Linked DNA regions of Homo sapiens: region 1 is linked to region 2. Evidence: promoter capture Hi-C in 16 types of primary human blood cells and fetal thymus (Javierre and others, 2016). All regions are on one chromosome and are shown on one strand. Each heading gives the region's core, a stretch centred on a gene start or on the middle of the fragment in contact. The rest is flanking DNA. Distances are from core to core; before and after follow the strand shown.

Region 1 (6,903 bases), core at 2,003-4,502, 640 kb after region 2:
AAATGCCAACAAGTTTTTGAAGCCTTAAAAACTGAGTTGGGTCAAGCCCTCACCCTTGGACTCCCCAACTTAGAAAAACCATTTATCTTGTATATTTGTGGGAGACTAGGAATAGCTTTGGGAGTCTTAATCCAAAGGTTAAGACCTGTTCAGTGGCTGGTGGCTCATTTTTCAAAACAGTGGGACCCAGTTGCACAGGGGTGGCCTTGCTGCTTGATGGCAGTGACAGCCACTGCCCTACTGGTTAGTGAAGCCTCTAAGCTGATTCTGGGTTAACATATATAAGTTATGACATCCTACCAGGTTCAGACTGTGTTAGAAGTCAAGAGACACAATTGTCTCACTTGGTGGGGGGGAGACTGACCAAACACCAACCTCTCTTATTAGACACCCCAGACATTACTTTGAGTATATGTCAGACCCTGAAGCCAGCAACTTTAGTCCCAACCACAGATGATGAGGGCTTATGACGGTGCAGAGAGACCATAAAACAGACATTCTCCAGCAGGCCTGACTTATGAGATCAGCCTTTTGAGAACCTGGAGGCAGAATGGCATACTGATGGCAGTAGCTTTGTGGAGGAAGGAACCTGAATGGCAGGATATACAGTAGTAAGCCTGAATGAGACTACAGAAGCTAAAACCCTTCCTCCCCAAACCTCAGCACAAAAAGCAGAACTGATGGCCTTCATCAGAGCCTTACAACTGGGAGAAGGGGAGCGAGTACGTGTATACACTGACTCAAAGTATGGGTTTCTTGCACTGTGTGGCCATGCAGACATATGGAAAGAAAGGGGAATGTTAACAGCTAAAAATTCCCCAATCAAACATAAGGACCCAGTCCTACTTCTCCTGGAAGTGGTACAACTTCCCTGCCACATAGCAGACATTCGCTGCAAGGGCCACCAGAGAGACAGGTCCCTCATTAGCCAAGGAAATAATAGGGATGATAGGGCCACAAAGCAGCCTGGTTACAGGAACCCAGCAATGTGTTGTCCTTAATGATAGACCCCACCAACCTTCTGAATCACCCACGATACTCACAAGAAGAGCTAGAGGAGGAAAACAATGATGGATGGTTCCCAGATGGTGATAAGATTTTTATTCCGGGAACTGACCAGTAGAAACTTATTAAGCATCTCCATGATGCCATTCATTATGGGACAGATGTTTTATGGAATATTGTATATAAAATATTAATTGAAAAGGGATTGAGAAAAACTAAAATAAGTAACCTTTGCCTATGAACTGTGTTCCCAGAATAATCCCCAAACCTATCCAGTTCCTCCCTCTTGACTTAAGCTGGTTCAACACAGGGGAACTTATCCAGGAGAAGACTGGCAGGTAGATTTACTCAAATGCCCCCAAATCTAGGATACAAATATCTCCTGGTGTTTGTGAATACTTTTATTGGGTCACTCAAGGCTTTTCCTATTCATACAGAAGGAGCAGTAGAAATCTATAAATCTTTACCAAAATAAATATTAATAATTTCTTGATTTGGACTCCCCAAATCCCTTCATAGCAATAATTCGCCCTCCTTTGTGGCTAAGATTACCCAGAGCCTCTTCACATCGTAGGAATAGATTAAAGACAGTGCCATCCTGGCACCCCCAATCATCAGGTAAAGTTGAAAAGATGAACTATATTCCTAAGCTGATTCTAGAAAAGCTTTGTCAAGAGACCTACAGCCCTGGGTTACGATGCTCCCAGTTGCACTTCTTAGAGTCTGCATGGCCCCTTGGGGCAGCCTAAGACTTAACTCTTCTGAGATGATCTATGAGAGGAGTTTCCTCACCACTGACCTCCTGTTAGATGGACAATTAAATTAAAAATTATAATATATAATTAATTTAGGACAGGTTCAAAAGGCAATTTCAGAATATGGGAACAAAATCCTGCCAGTCTCCACTAAAGATGGGGAAACCCCTTTATGGATTAATCCAGGAAACCAAGTCCTCCTTAAGACTGGGAAGGAGGACTTCCTGGAGGAACAACCATTGGCTAAATGGAAGGCACTTTACTTGGTGATCCAAACACCCAGTAAGGTACAGAGGTGTACCCTAACTGAGGATTCCTTGTATCCCTAGCTGGGTACACCTCACCTGATTAAAACATCTTTTCTCCTAAATGTTTCTAGACATGCCCAGAAAGCCCATCTTACTCATGTGAACCTATGGATGATCTCAAATACCTGTTCAAGAGAGCCAGTTCATCCCTGGAGTAATGTGGTTAGAGATCTTGAGTCCAGTAATTCTCCTTACAATATGAATTGTTTTACAATTATTCTGTTGCTTTGCTCAGCCTCCTCCCCTGGTAAACACCTCTTTTATCCCTGCTGCATATAGTTATGCTCCTCTTTACTTTGTTCCTACTCCTCCATGTAGGGGGACGTGGTGGGCTGGGCCCTCTTGAAAAGGGAAACAAACTCTCTCATCTACCTTTCTGGCATTGCAGCTTTGGGTAATAATTTGTCCAACTGCTGGATATGCCACCATCATCAGCAGGCTCAGGGGCTGCCTCTTTCATTCCCTAAAAGCTCGACTACCAGTTTCACAAAGGAGGTATGGGAACCTAAAGTAACCCCTGCACCTCTCATGGTACACCTAAGTGCCTCATTTCCTGTGAATGTATAAACCTCACTGGCCTGCTAAATGCTTCAGTCATCGAAAGGGTGGGAAAAGGGGAAGTTGAAATGCCTACTTTGACATCTCACAGGCTTTTCCCTCATCAGTTTTTTTTTTAAAAAAAGCCCTAATCAAACGTGGACTAGGGGAGTTCGTCTTTCTCTCCCAATGCCCAAAACAGTCATACCTCTCTGCAAAGCTCAGTCAGTCACCTGCATTCCTCTTGCCCCATGTAAATTGCACACCCCTAGGATATGTGTCCTTTTGTGGACACCAAGACCATTTGGCCAACAGCTATCCACTAACCAATTTCACATGTCCATTACTCATACCAGCATGCCCTTGTGTCTATAATGTATAACACACTGCACCCTTAGGTACTTTGAGCCCCAATGGAATAACAGTTCATAACAGCACACATCCAAAATCTAAAAGGCTGACAGGTTTACAGCTAATTTTGGCATGAGTTGGAATAGCTATCCGTTTAGCAGACACTTGGGGGTGGCTTTGCATACTGTGAGGCAACTTTGAGGAAGTTAACAGAAACCCTTCAAACACTGTCAACCAGTACGAGGGAAAATTTAAAAGAACTTCAGGCTTCCCTAGACTCCCTAGTCAATGTTGTCTTAGACCAGAGATTGGCCCTGGACTATCTTCTAGCTGAACAAGGGGGAGAATGCACAGAATAAACCACACCTGTTGTTCTTATGCTAACAATTCAGGGTTAGTTGAACTGCAAGTTCAAAAGATTTACCAACAGGCTACCTGGATGCACAATTTCAAAAACCCCACTTCTCAGACCATCTGGGACTTCATCAAAGGATACTTACTATGAGTGACAGAATTTTTACCTTTCCTTGGACCCTAGGTGGTCATTTTATTGCTATTACTTTTCGGGCCTTGTATTTTTAACCTTTTGGTAAAGTTTGTATCTTTCAGGCTTCAATAGTTTCAAGTCAAGCTAATGATGGCCCAAGGATTTCAACCCATATCATTCCAGAAGGATCTCTGTCCCTGCAGGTCTATAGAACAGTCAGTGAGAGACTTCCACACCCTCCAAGATTAGGCATGGAAGACAACCCTGTTCAGCAGGAAGTAGCTTCAGAAGATGAGATCTTTGGTTCTTTCTCTTTAAGAATAAGGAGGGGAAAGGTGAAATCTCTCAGCGGGGAATTGAGATAGAATAGGAATGGGATGCAACTCCTCCTTCACATATGTTTTCTTCTCTTTTTTTCTCTCGTCCCAGTGATCACAAAATTCACACCGTTACCTTGCTGGCAATCTACTTGCTAACCCCAAGGCTTTAGTCATACCAAGCAAATAGCCATTCTTCTGTGCTCTCATGATGTTTAACCATGCCTTTTACTTAAAGAATTCCAGGAACTGGCCTTTGGAAATCCAAATATCAAACCAAGGTTAAGAGTGTCCCACCTTGGGAAGGAATGCTCAGCAATCATTTGCAGCCTTGTTGCTGTTGGCCAGACCCGCCAGGTGGCCCATGACTCAAGATGATCAATGTAATCAGATACGCTGACCGCATACCCCACCCCTCAGGTGCTTTGCCTACTCCAGCCTGCACACATTACCCTTGACACCCATTCCCATGCTTTGCCTAATAAAAATATCCCTACCAGCTTTTTTGGGGAGTCAGCTGGAGAGTCCTTGAGTCTCTGCTGTTTCCCTTGCACTCAAGCACAAGCCCTGAAATAAAAGGCTTGTCTAGGACATCTGCGTGGCTCAGTGTTACTTTTTATTACATGGGGAACCAAAGAGCCTGTGATTTGTACCAATAGCATAACATGAGCATGGGTATAATAACTCATACTCACAGTTCCAGGGATTAGGGCAGGAAATCCTGGGGGACTATTTTGGCATTTTGTCCGATCCAAGCCCTCATTTGTTATCCATGTATCTTATTCATCCATAGTCCAGTATCTTCTCAAAGAGCTCCTCTTCTAAGAGTAATTTCTTGCTTGCATTGTCCAAGAAGAAATTGCTTAGTTGCTTAGTTCAAATCTCTTTCTATTTGGCCTGGACAGACATAGCTAGTGTATCTAAGTCAAGTATATCTTTAAAATATGCCCCAGACCCAGGATTAACAGAATTGAAATTACTATTAAATTGCAGATTCCTCCCATTTTACCTGAACTCATTATTAATTATAGAGTTATATATAATGAATGTTTGAACTACAATGATGTAAGCTTACTTCCCCAGCTAATGCTCTTCCATGAGCCCAAAATCTTTCAATAGATACAAATTGGAATTGGAATTGGAAAAACTTTTGGCCAATGTGTAGCAAGCTTTCCAGAGAAGTATTTGTCACTGACATTGTTGAAACCTAAATAGACTTCTCCCTTAGGATCCTCATGAAAGTCTGGAAATATCAATCATCCCTTAAACATAGTCCAAGATTTTCTGTTTTCTGGTTTTTACAAACTGTCAGTTTTGATTTTTATTGAGCAATAAGAAGCTTGGTTGTTTATTGGAACAAACAAGGCTAGTAACAATTCTTTCCAAGTGCTGGATCTTTCCATTCACTTAAACTAAATAAAGTATTTCTGGTATGTCCGTAAGAGACAAGAGTGTGGAACGGCCGAGCGTGCCTCTGAAAGGATTTGTGGTGCTCCCTGGGGGTCCCTTCCCCACGATCAACCTATTTGTTTTTTTGTTTTCTTTTTAAATATTTGCAAACACAAAATGGATACAAATTCTAATTCCCCTTTGGTAGAATTGGAAGATAGTGAAATAATGAATAAATTAGGAGTTGAAATTCCATGGCAATGTCTTTATTTTAAAGCAAACAAACCGAGCACCGTGGAGTATGAACAAAGGGCTTAGACATAGTGAGCCTGGATACTCCCCACTGGAGTGGTCAGGTGTGGCGTGGGGTGGTGGAGAGGGGCAGTGGCAGTGGGCACTTTTGTGGTGTGGTCTGTCAGTAGTGGATGGTGAATAACCAGTTCTTGAGACTCAGGGTGGGACTGAGGGCATAGCCAAGACTGTAAGTTTAGGCTTTTTCCTCATCTGATCGAAGGGCTCTTTTCATTCCCTTCTCTCAGGAGAGTAGTGTTTTCAAGTCTCTCTACTTTTTTTTTTTTTTTTTTTTTTTTTTTTTTTTTAGATGGAGTCTTGCTGTGTAACCCAGGCTGGAGTGCAGTGACATGCTCTCGGCTCACTGTGACCTCCGCCTCCTGGATTTAAGCAATTCTCCTGACTCAGCCTCCTGAGTAGCTGGGATTACAGGCGCCCGCCACCACACCCAGCTAATTTTTGTATTTTAGTGGAGATGAGGTTTCATCATGTTGTCTAGGCTGGTCTCAAACTTCTTACCTTAAGTAATCCACCTGCCTCAGCTTCCCAAAGTGCTGGGATTACAGGTGTGAGCCACCGTGCCCGGCCTCAAGTCTCCCTTTGAGGTTCCTTTGCTTTGTACAACCACAGAGGAAGGGGATTTTTTTTTTCTCTTTTGCCCTTCAAGAAGCTCCTTTCCTCCCAGCTTATATTAGTACCAATAAAGAATACCTCTAGGTAGAAATATATTTCTAAATTTCCACTTTTTTCCATAAGTGTTATAGGATTTTTTTTTAAAAAAAAAACATGATCACAAAGTTTCACATCCAATAAATTCAATTGGTGAGTTGATGGTTTTAGAAATCAGTTCCAATTACCCATAATTCTATGGGGTTTCTTTCTTACTTAGTGACTTAGTGATGTGAATATATACACAATTTTTCTCTATTTTAAAGCGACTAGTCTTTTTATGGCGTGCTTTTCTTAAATCTGTTGACTTTCCAGTGACAAATCAATGATTCTTCTCCTCTCTACTGCCTCGTTGCTCCTTGACTGATCTGCTGATTGATAAGTCTCAACTGAGAATAGAAGGACTCATTCTATTGAGTTGAGGATGTTTTGTTCCTTTGTGTGAAAATCGTCTTGGACAAATTGCTTGAAGTATAAGTCAAATCTTTTTTTTTTTTTTTTTTGAGACGCAGTCTCACTCTGTCGCCCAGGCTGGAGTGCAGTTGCACGATCTCAGCTCACTGCAACCTCCGCCTCCCGGGTTCAAGCAATTCTCTGCCTCAGCCTCCACAGTAGCTGGAACTACAAGCGCCTACCACCACTCCCAGCTAATTTTTGTATTTTTAGTAAAGACGGGGTTTCACCATCTTGGCCAGGCTGATCTTGAACTCCTGACCTCATGATCCATCCACCTCAGCCTCTCAAAGTGCTGGGATTACAGGAGTGAGCCACCACGCCCGGCCAAGTCAAATCTT
Region 2 (7,378 bases), core at 623-3,122:
AGTAGGAGGATCACTTGAACCTAGTGAGCCATGATCATGCCACTGCACTCCAGCCTGGGTGACAGAGCAAGATCCTGTTTTAATTTTTTAAAAATCAAATTCTGATTCACATTATAGTGTAAGCAAACCTTGAAAATATTATGCTACATGAAAACAGTGAGCCACAAAAGGCCACATATTGCATTATTTCAATCATATAAAATGTCTAAAATAGGCACATTGATAGAGACAGAAAGTAGATTAGCAGTTCCTAGAGGATAAGGAAAGGGTAAAATGGGGAGCAACTGCTAATGGGATAATGAAAATGTTTTAGAAATAGAAAGTGATGATTATGGCACAACTCTGTGAATATATTCCCCCAAAAATCCATTTAATTACTAAAGAGGTGATTTTTTTTGGTATGTGAATTATATGTCAATTTTTAAAAAGAGAAAAAATAAGGCAAGAGGAAGGTAAGATTATTTCCAGCTCATGATGTTCAGGAAAGCCCATTCCAGCATTTTACAATATACAGATGATTAGGCATTCAGAAATACAGGGGAAGGGAGTTGGAGGTGTGAGTTCTGCTCTGTGCAATCATTCAAGAGACAGGCTCCTTTCATGATATGGTCCTGCCACCTGTAACATGAGATTTCAAAGACAGGAGAGAAAACTTGTGTAAAATTATGAAAGAGCTAATGCGATGAGCCCCACTGTCAACATGCCATTAGCTAGAATTTAGTCATAAGGTCCTACCCAATTCCAAAGGTGGATGGAAGACGTTAATTTATCTCAATGCTCAGGAACAATACTTAGTATTGTCTCTGTCACAAAAGGAAAGAGGATACATTCCCAACCTAAGTAACTGAGATTCAGAATTAACCCTGAAATAAGCAGCTACAAACTATAGAGCACTAAAACCAAAAATAATCATAGAAGAAAAGAATATACAAAATTTTGTATAATCTGTTGTTCAGTTAATTTGGAAAGTAACTTTGCTGCCATCTTTCAAACCACCTTAAGCAAAATATTCAGAAACTTCAATAACTAACTAGTATCACCAGTCTTGGCTTGATAAGTAAAGTTACTAGGTATTTGTCGGTTCAACTTACGATACGTTAAACTCTGGAGGTTTAAAAAAAAGTTGCTTAAAAAAAAAAAACAGAATGCAGCTTATTATTTTCCTGAGTTCAGTGTAAGCATAGTTACATTAATGCCGTATGAGTTTAAAATATTGTAAATAAAAAGCACCTTTTTTCAGCTATAACACAAACTCCTCAATAGAGAAATATGGGATATTAGTGCATTAAAATCAACCCCTTTTGAACCCATTCATAATTTATAGCTACCTACATAGTTCTTCCAGCCATACCATGTCTATCTGTATCATTAAATATCCTCTCTGTTTTTCAGGTATTTTAACTGAACCACTACTGGCTGGGTTCTTAATAAAAACAAAAAATTAAGAAGGTAAATAAATTCAGTATCCTAGCCAAAAAGCAGAGTATCTGTTTCAGGAACATAAGACAGTATACTTTCCATTTCATTTTACACACACACATGATGTCTTTTACATAAGAATGAACCTGGCTGCCTGAAGATAGCTTGTTTTGATATCACAGAATGGCCTCTAGGGATCAAGTTGTTTCCCTTGAAAACTTAAAAAGGGAAATTCAGTCTCTTATCCGGCTTGCTTCTCGACTTCAGACTTCAGGAGCTTCTGCATCTGAATCTGTGTCACCCTGCAATTTGTGTCTCTGAAACATAATCCTGTCTCACAGACTCCCATTGCATTGGGATTGGTCAGAAGGAAGCAGAGGAGGAGCCACCGTGAACATGTTTTTTTTCTCTCCACACATCATAAAAATCAGCAGCTGGCGCCTACAGCCCCTAACACTCAAAGCAACGCTCAGGCTGGAAACAGAAGCTTCCGAGAGGCAGCCGATGTGAGCATGTGCGCACAGATTCGTCTCCCAATGGCATGGCAGCTTCAAGGAAAATTATTTTGAACAGACTTGAATGCATAAGATTAAAGTTAAAGCAGAAGTGAGAACAAGAAAGCAAAGAGCAGACTCTTTCAACTGAGAATGAATATTTTGAAGCCCAAGATTTTAAAGTGATGATGATTAGAGTCGTACCTAAAAGAGACTAAAAACTCCATGTCAAGCTCTGGACTTGTGACATTTACTCACAGCAGGCATGGCAATTTTAGCCTCACAACTTTCAGACAGATAAAGACTTGGAGGAAATAACTGAGACGACTCCCTGACCCAGGAGGTTAAATCAATTCAGGGGGACACTGGAATTCTCCTGCCAGCATGGTGAACTCCACCCACCGTGGGATGCACACTTCTCTGCACCTCTGGAACCGCAGCAGTTACAGACTGCACAGCAATGCCAGTGAGTCCCTTGGAAAAGGCTACTCTGATGGAGGGTGCTACGAGCAACTTTTTGTCTCTCCTGAGGTGTTTGTGACTCTGGGTGTCATCAGCTTGTTGGAGAATATCTTAGTGATTGTGGCAATAGCCAAGAACAAGAATCTGCATTCACCCATGTACTTTTTCATCTGCAGCTTGGCTGTGGCTGATATGCTGGTGAGCGTTTCAAATGGATCAGAAACCATTGTCATCACCCTATTAAACAGTACAGATACGGATGCACAGAGTTTCACAGTGAATATTGATAATGTCATTGACTCGGTGATCTGTAGCTCCTTGCTTGCATCCATTTGCAGCCTGCTTTCAATTGCAGTGGACAGGTACTTTACTATCTTCTATGCTCTCCAGTACCATAACATTATGACAGTTAAGCGGGTTGGGATCATCATAAGTTGTATCTGGGCAGCTTGCACGGTTTCAGGCATTTTGTTCATCATTTACTCAGATAGTAGTGCTGTCATCATCTGCCTCATCACCATGTTCTTCACCATGCTGGCTCTCATGGCTTCTCTCTATGTCCACATGTTCCTGATGGCCAGGCTTCACATTAAGAGGATTGCTGTCCTCCCCGGCACTGGTGCCATCCGCCAAGGTGCCAATATGAAGGGAGCGATTACCTTGACCATCCTGATTGGCGTCTTTGTTGTCTGCTGGGCCCCATTCTTCCTCCACTTAATATTCTACATCTCTTGTCCTCAGAATCCATATTGTGTGTGCTTCATGTCTCACTTTAACTTGTATCTCATACTGATCATGTGTAATTCAATCATCGATCCTCTGATTTATGCACTCCGGAGTCAAGAACTGAGGAAAACCTTCAAAGAGATCATCTGTTGCTATCCCCTGGGAGGCCTTTGTGACTTGTCTAGCAGATATTAAATGGGGACAGAGCACGCAATATAGGAACATGCATAAGAGACTTTTTCACTCTTACCCTACCTGAATATTGTACTTCTGCAACAGCTTTCTCTTCCGTGTAGGGTACTGGTTGAGAATATCCATTGTGTAAATTTAAGCCTATGATTTTTAATGAGAAAAAATGCCCAGTCTCTGTATTATTTCCAATGTCATGCTACTTTTTTGGCCATAAAATATGAATCTATGTTATAGGTTGTAGGCACTGTGGATTTACAAAAAGAAAAGTCCTTATTAAAAGCTTAACAATGTCTCCTTCGTGTTATTCATAAGCATTGGACACTTTGCGTGCTTTCGTAACATAGAAATCAGAGCCTCATTAAACATATTCTAATAAATGCTTTATTATATTATATTATCCACCATTGAAATGTAGAGAGTTCATTCTAGCAGTTAAGGGAAAATATTTAAAGAATAGATGTATAATCATTTTTAAAAATATCATCACTGAAATTTCAAGTAATTTAATTAAAGGTTTGTTCATCCTCCCTGTGCAGAAGTAGAAATGAAGCTCCTCTAGAGAGAAAAACAGGTGCTGAAAAAAGAGAGATGCTGAGTTAGAAAACTATGTGTACTTCTCAGACACAGAAAGATTCATCTCCCTTAGCAAACAGCCTGATATTTCACACAGGCAATTCGGTTTGGGGTGGGTGGGAAAAGGCAGCTATAGGGATGAAAGTGTCCTGGAAAACCTAAGTTGCCATGTCAAGCTAAATTTCCTGTTACCAAATTATCCCTAAACAATATTAATAAAACAGAGAATGGGGATTTATGCCCCCTTTAAACAAGGATTCAGGGTCTGCTGAAGTGTCCAGAAAAGGTAATATTGTACTGAGAGATTTAGCTTCCTGTTTCTAGAGAAGTACAGGACTGACATCGAATTCTTTCTCATTTCACATGAAAATGACTTGCTGTTTACTTATTGCTGATTTTTTGAACTGGAGTACAAATGTTGATTATCAAGGATTTTAAACTTCAAAACCAAATTCATAGCAGAAGTGTTTTCTGGCAATATTTGTAAATAACTAAAATAAAGGTATCTGTGATGCTGGTACATTTTAAGCAGGAAGGGAGGCACCTACCAAACCCCAGAGGATGTCATGCAATAAACTAGCCTTCCACAGCCACTTCTTGAAGAGTAAAATGTTTTGCTCCAAAATAATCCTACAGATTTGGCCACTGAGCAATAAAATTTGTACTGTACTTTCTAATCTGTGTGTAATTTAAAATAAAGCAAAAGAATATATTAGGTTGAGGATTACCAGTAAACTATCTTAGGATTTACAGGGTCTTCAAATGCTCATGGGCAGAAGTCATATGCAAAGGTACTCCTTAACTCAAATCTAAATGTTTTACACTGATTATAAGACCCAAGAAACACTTTCAACATTCATCTGAAAACACTACCTTAAAGGATAATAGTGAAGTTAAAGTTTACACATAAGAAGTGGTACTAAAGCTGAAATTTTAATTCCACTGCAATTCCTCTATTTTGAAGCAAAAGTGAATGTGAGGATTTAAATATACACTAATCTAACAATCATAGTCTATAGCAGTAGAGGGACACAGTTATGTTTTTTTCATTGCTACGTTTCCTGTCCATTCTTTCATTTCATGAATCTGAAAAATCCCAGGGACTAGAGATATGAAAAAGAGAGCTATGAGCACACCCCATCTTCTGTGGTGGCTGCCCTTCCCAGTTTATCCTATTTCTCCTCCAAGTGCCATCTCAGATCCTGGCTCCTCCTTCTTCAGGTTCATACCTTCTCCTGGAGTGGTTTACAGTGTTAGGGTGTGTATAATTCATGAACGAGCCATATAACAGCACCCTCCCCTATATGCCATGGTACCATATTGGACTTCAGCTCCTTTAAGTGCAGAGACTGTCTCTTACTCAGTTTTTCTATTCTCCAAGTCTTCCTCTATTCAAGTTGCTTCCTTTTGTTCAAGTAAAAACAAGATTCCCTCAGAGGCCAGGCCTTACCCAAGCCACCTCTAAGCTCCATTCCACATCCAGTGAGATTTGGAGCCCCACCAGCTCTAGCTGGATTGTTATTGTATCAATTGGGGAAGTGTTATGGTTTAAAACTGTAGGCTTAAGCAAGTATATTTAGGATGAATACAGGAGGGAGCAGAGAGTGAGAGTGGGGCTGGAGATTTGGAGGAAACAAGCTTGAAGTACACGAAATGAAGATACTGTAGTGACCATGGCTGCTAGAGCAGATGCAGAGAAAGTGGTTATTCCAAGTAGGTAATTTTAAATATATTAGGAGCAAAGAACTGAAATTCACAGAATTGTATGAGAACATTCCCCTCAAGGAAAGGGGATTCTATTTCCGCTCCATTCACCTTACATCTAATAACAACATGTCATCACGACTTCAGACCTTATCCAACCATAATATTCAGATTCCTGTTTGGAATCCCCAGTTCCATATTGCAGTCTCACTTTCCTTGCTGTTTTATTTTTGTGCATTCTGTCTCTTCTGTTAGGATGTGAGCCCCTTAAAGAAAAGCCTTATGCTCATATTTTTATTGCCACAGGGAATAGCATATTTCATATTTAACATATTAGAGAGACTAAAAAAATCTAGAGAGAGAGAAAATATTCTTGACTTCTGAAAGTGGTTTCCCATTTAGTCTCACCTTGACCATTCTTGATGCTGCATCTATTTCAGTGGTGGCAATGATGACAGATCGGGGCAGAACTTTCTTATGTAGCAGCTGCCTAGCCATCATTGTCTCGCCCTACCTAGAGTGTCTTCAGGGAAGGACAATAGAAGCCATGGTGGTCACTGGGGAAGCAAGTGGGTCAGGCATTGGTTGCACACAGAAATGTTATAAAGGCAACCTCTAGCCATCCTTCTGAAAATCCATGATCAATAAATAGAGAGATGTGGAATCACAGCATGAATGAAGTAATAAGGGAATGTCTGTCCCATCAGATTATCTTGGTTTTACTACCGACAGTAGAATTAGTCATTGTTTAAGCCATATCAAGATTGATTTGTCCAGTTATGGTCTTAGGAGTTAGAGCTATCTGTAGCTAAGGACATTGGCTTATCTAAAACTTAGCACAAATGAGAATTATTCTTCCACATGCAGTGTCCATTAGGGAGAAATACATATGAATTATGCTAAATGGAAAGCATGGTACCATCCTGTGTCTGAGACATTCCATCCCCAACCCAGTGAAGTACCTCCAAGGAAACTGAGCTGTAGCACATGGCTTAGCCTACAGGCCCCAAACTGCCCCTCCCTCTCTCCTACTAAATCCACAAATTGACATCTTGTCACCTTTCAACCAACAAAAGACTACCTGAACATCATGGTTAAGAAGAAAAGAGAACGAAATGCAAGAGAGAGAGGGAGAGAGAGAGAAAGAGAAGAATGCTTACCAGGTTATGGATTGGCTTTCCACTTCAACTGATGAAAAACATAAACAAACAAATAAATAATGCCATAAAACATGTACCCACGAGCAGGGGCTTTAAACACATATCCCAACCCTGCTGGTGGCCCAGGAATTTCTATATGAGGCGGCTTAGGGTACAGTGTGGTTCAGAGGAGTTACAATGGACTGTCTTGAAGGTTTCTGTGCAGCAGTTGCCTTCTTTCAGGTTGCATAGGTTCTTGAAATGTGTTAGGAGGGATATTTGAAGATTTTACCTTGGTGAGATTAATAAACTTGGGCACCATGGGTGTCCTACAATCTGACTTCATCAGACAAGTGCTTCTTTATGGTGAGGAAAAGGGAGTGGAAGGAGACCGGAACATGGTAAAGAGTATTGTCTTCTCTTCCATCTTTCAAAAAGTTATTCCATTAATCAAATGTTATTCCTACAGCTTTTTTTTAAACTTGTAGGCTATTTTTTCCTTTACTATTTCTCTTGCTAATCTAGAAACCAATAGTGTTAAAGATGATATGTTTTCAATGAATGCTTCTTACCTGACTTCTTGTTTTATATTTCTTTCATGTTTTTTTCACTCAATTTTTCTTAAATTTCTTTGTATTGTTGTGATACACTAATGCAAAGAGAAAGAAA

Evidence for each region. Contacts are between HindIII fragments. The CHiCAGO score rates a contact against its expected background, and 5 or more counts as called.
Region 1: a contact is called between a fragment that was not itself captured here and the fragment with the promoter of MC4R in region 2, in 1 of 17 cell types (naive B cells). The highest score is 5.2, in naive B cells.

The regions. Positions count from the first base shown.
Region 1 is chr18:59,727,190-59,734,092 of GRCh38, reverse strand. No RefSeq gene overlaps it. Among named protein-coding and RNA genes, the nearest start is that of CCBE1, 33 kb to the right of the region's middle. The HindIII fragment of the contact is 3,160 bases long and covers 1,673-4,832 here.
Region 2 is chr18:60,367,269-60,374,646 of GRCh38, reverse strand. It overlaps MC4R (melanocortin 4 receptor), which reads left to right and starts at 1,872. Exons shown (of 1, transcript NM_005912.3): 1 at 1,872-3,585. The coding sequence starts at 2,298. The coding sequence ends at 3,296. The HindIII fragment of the contact is 4,351 bases long and covers 1-1,908 here.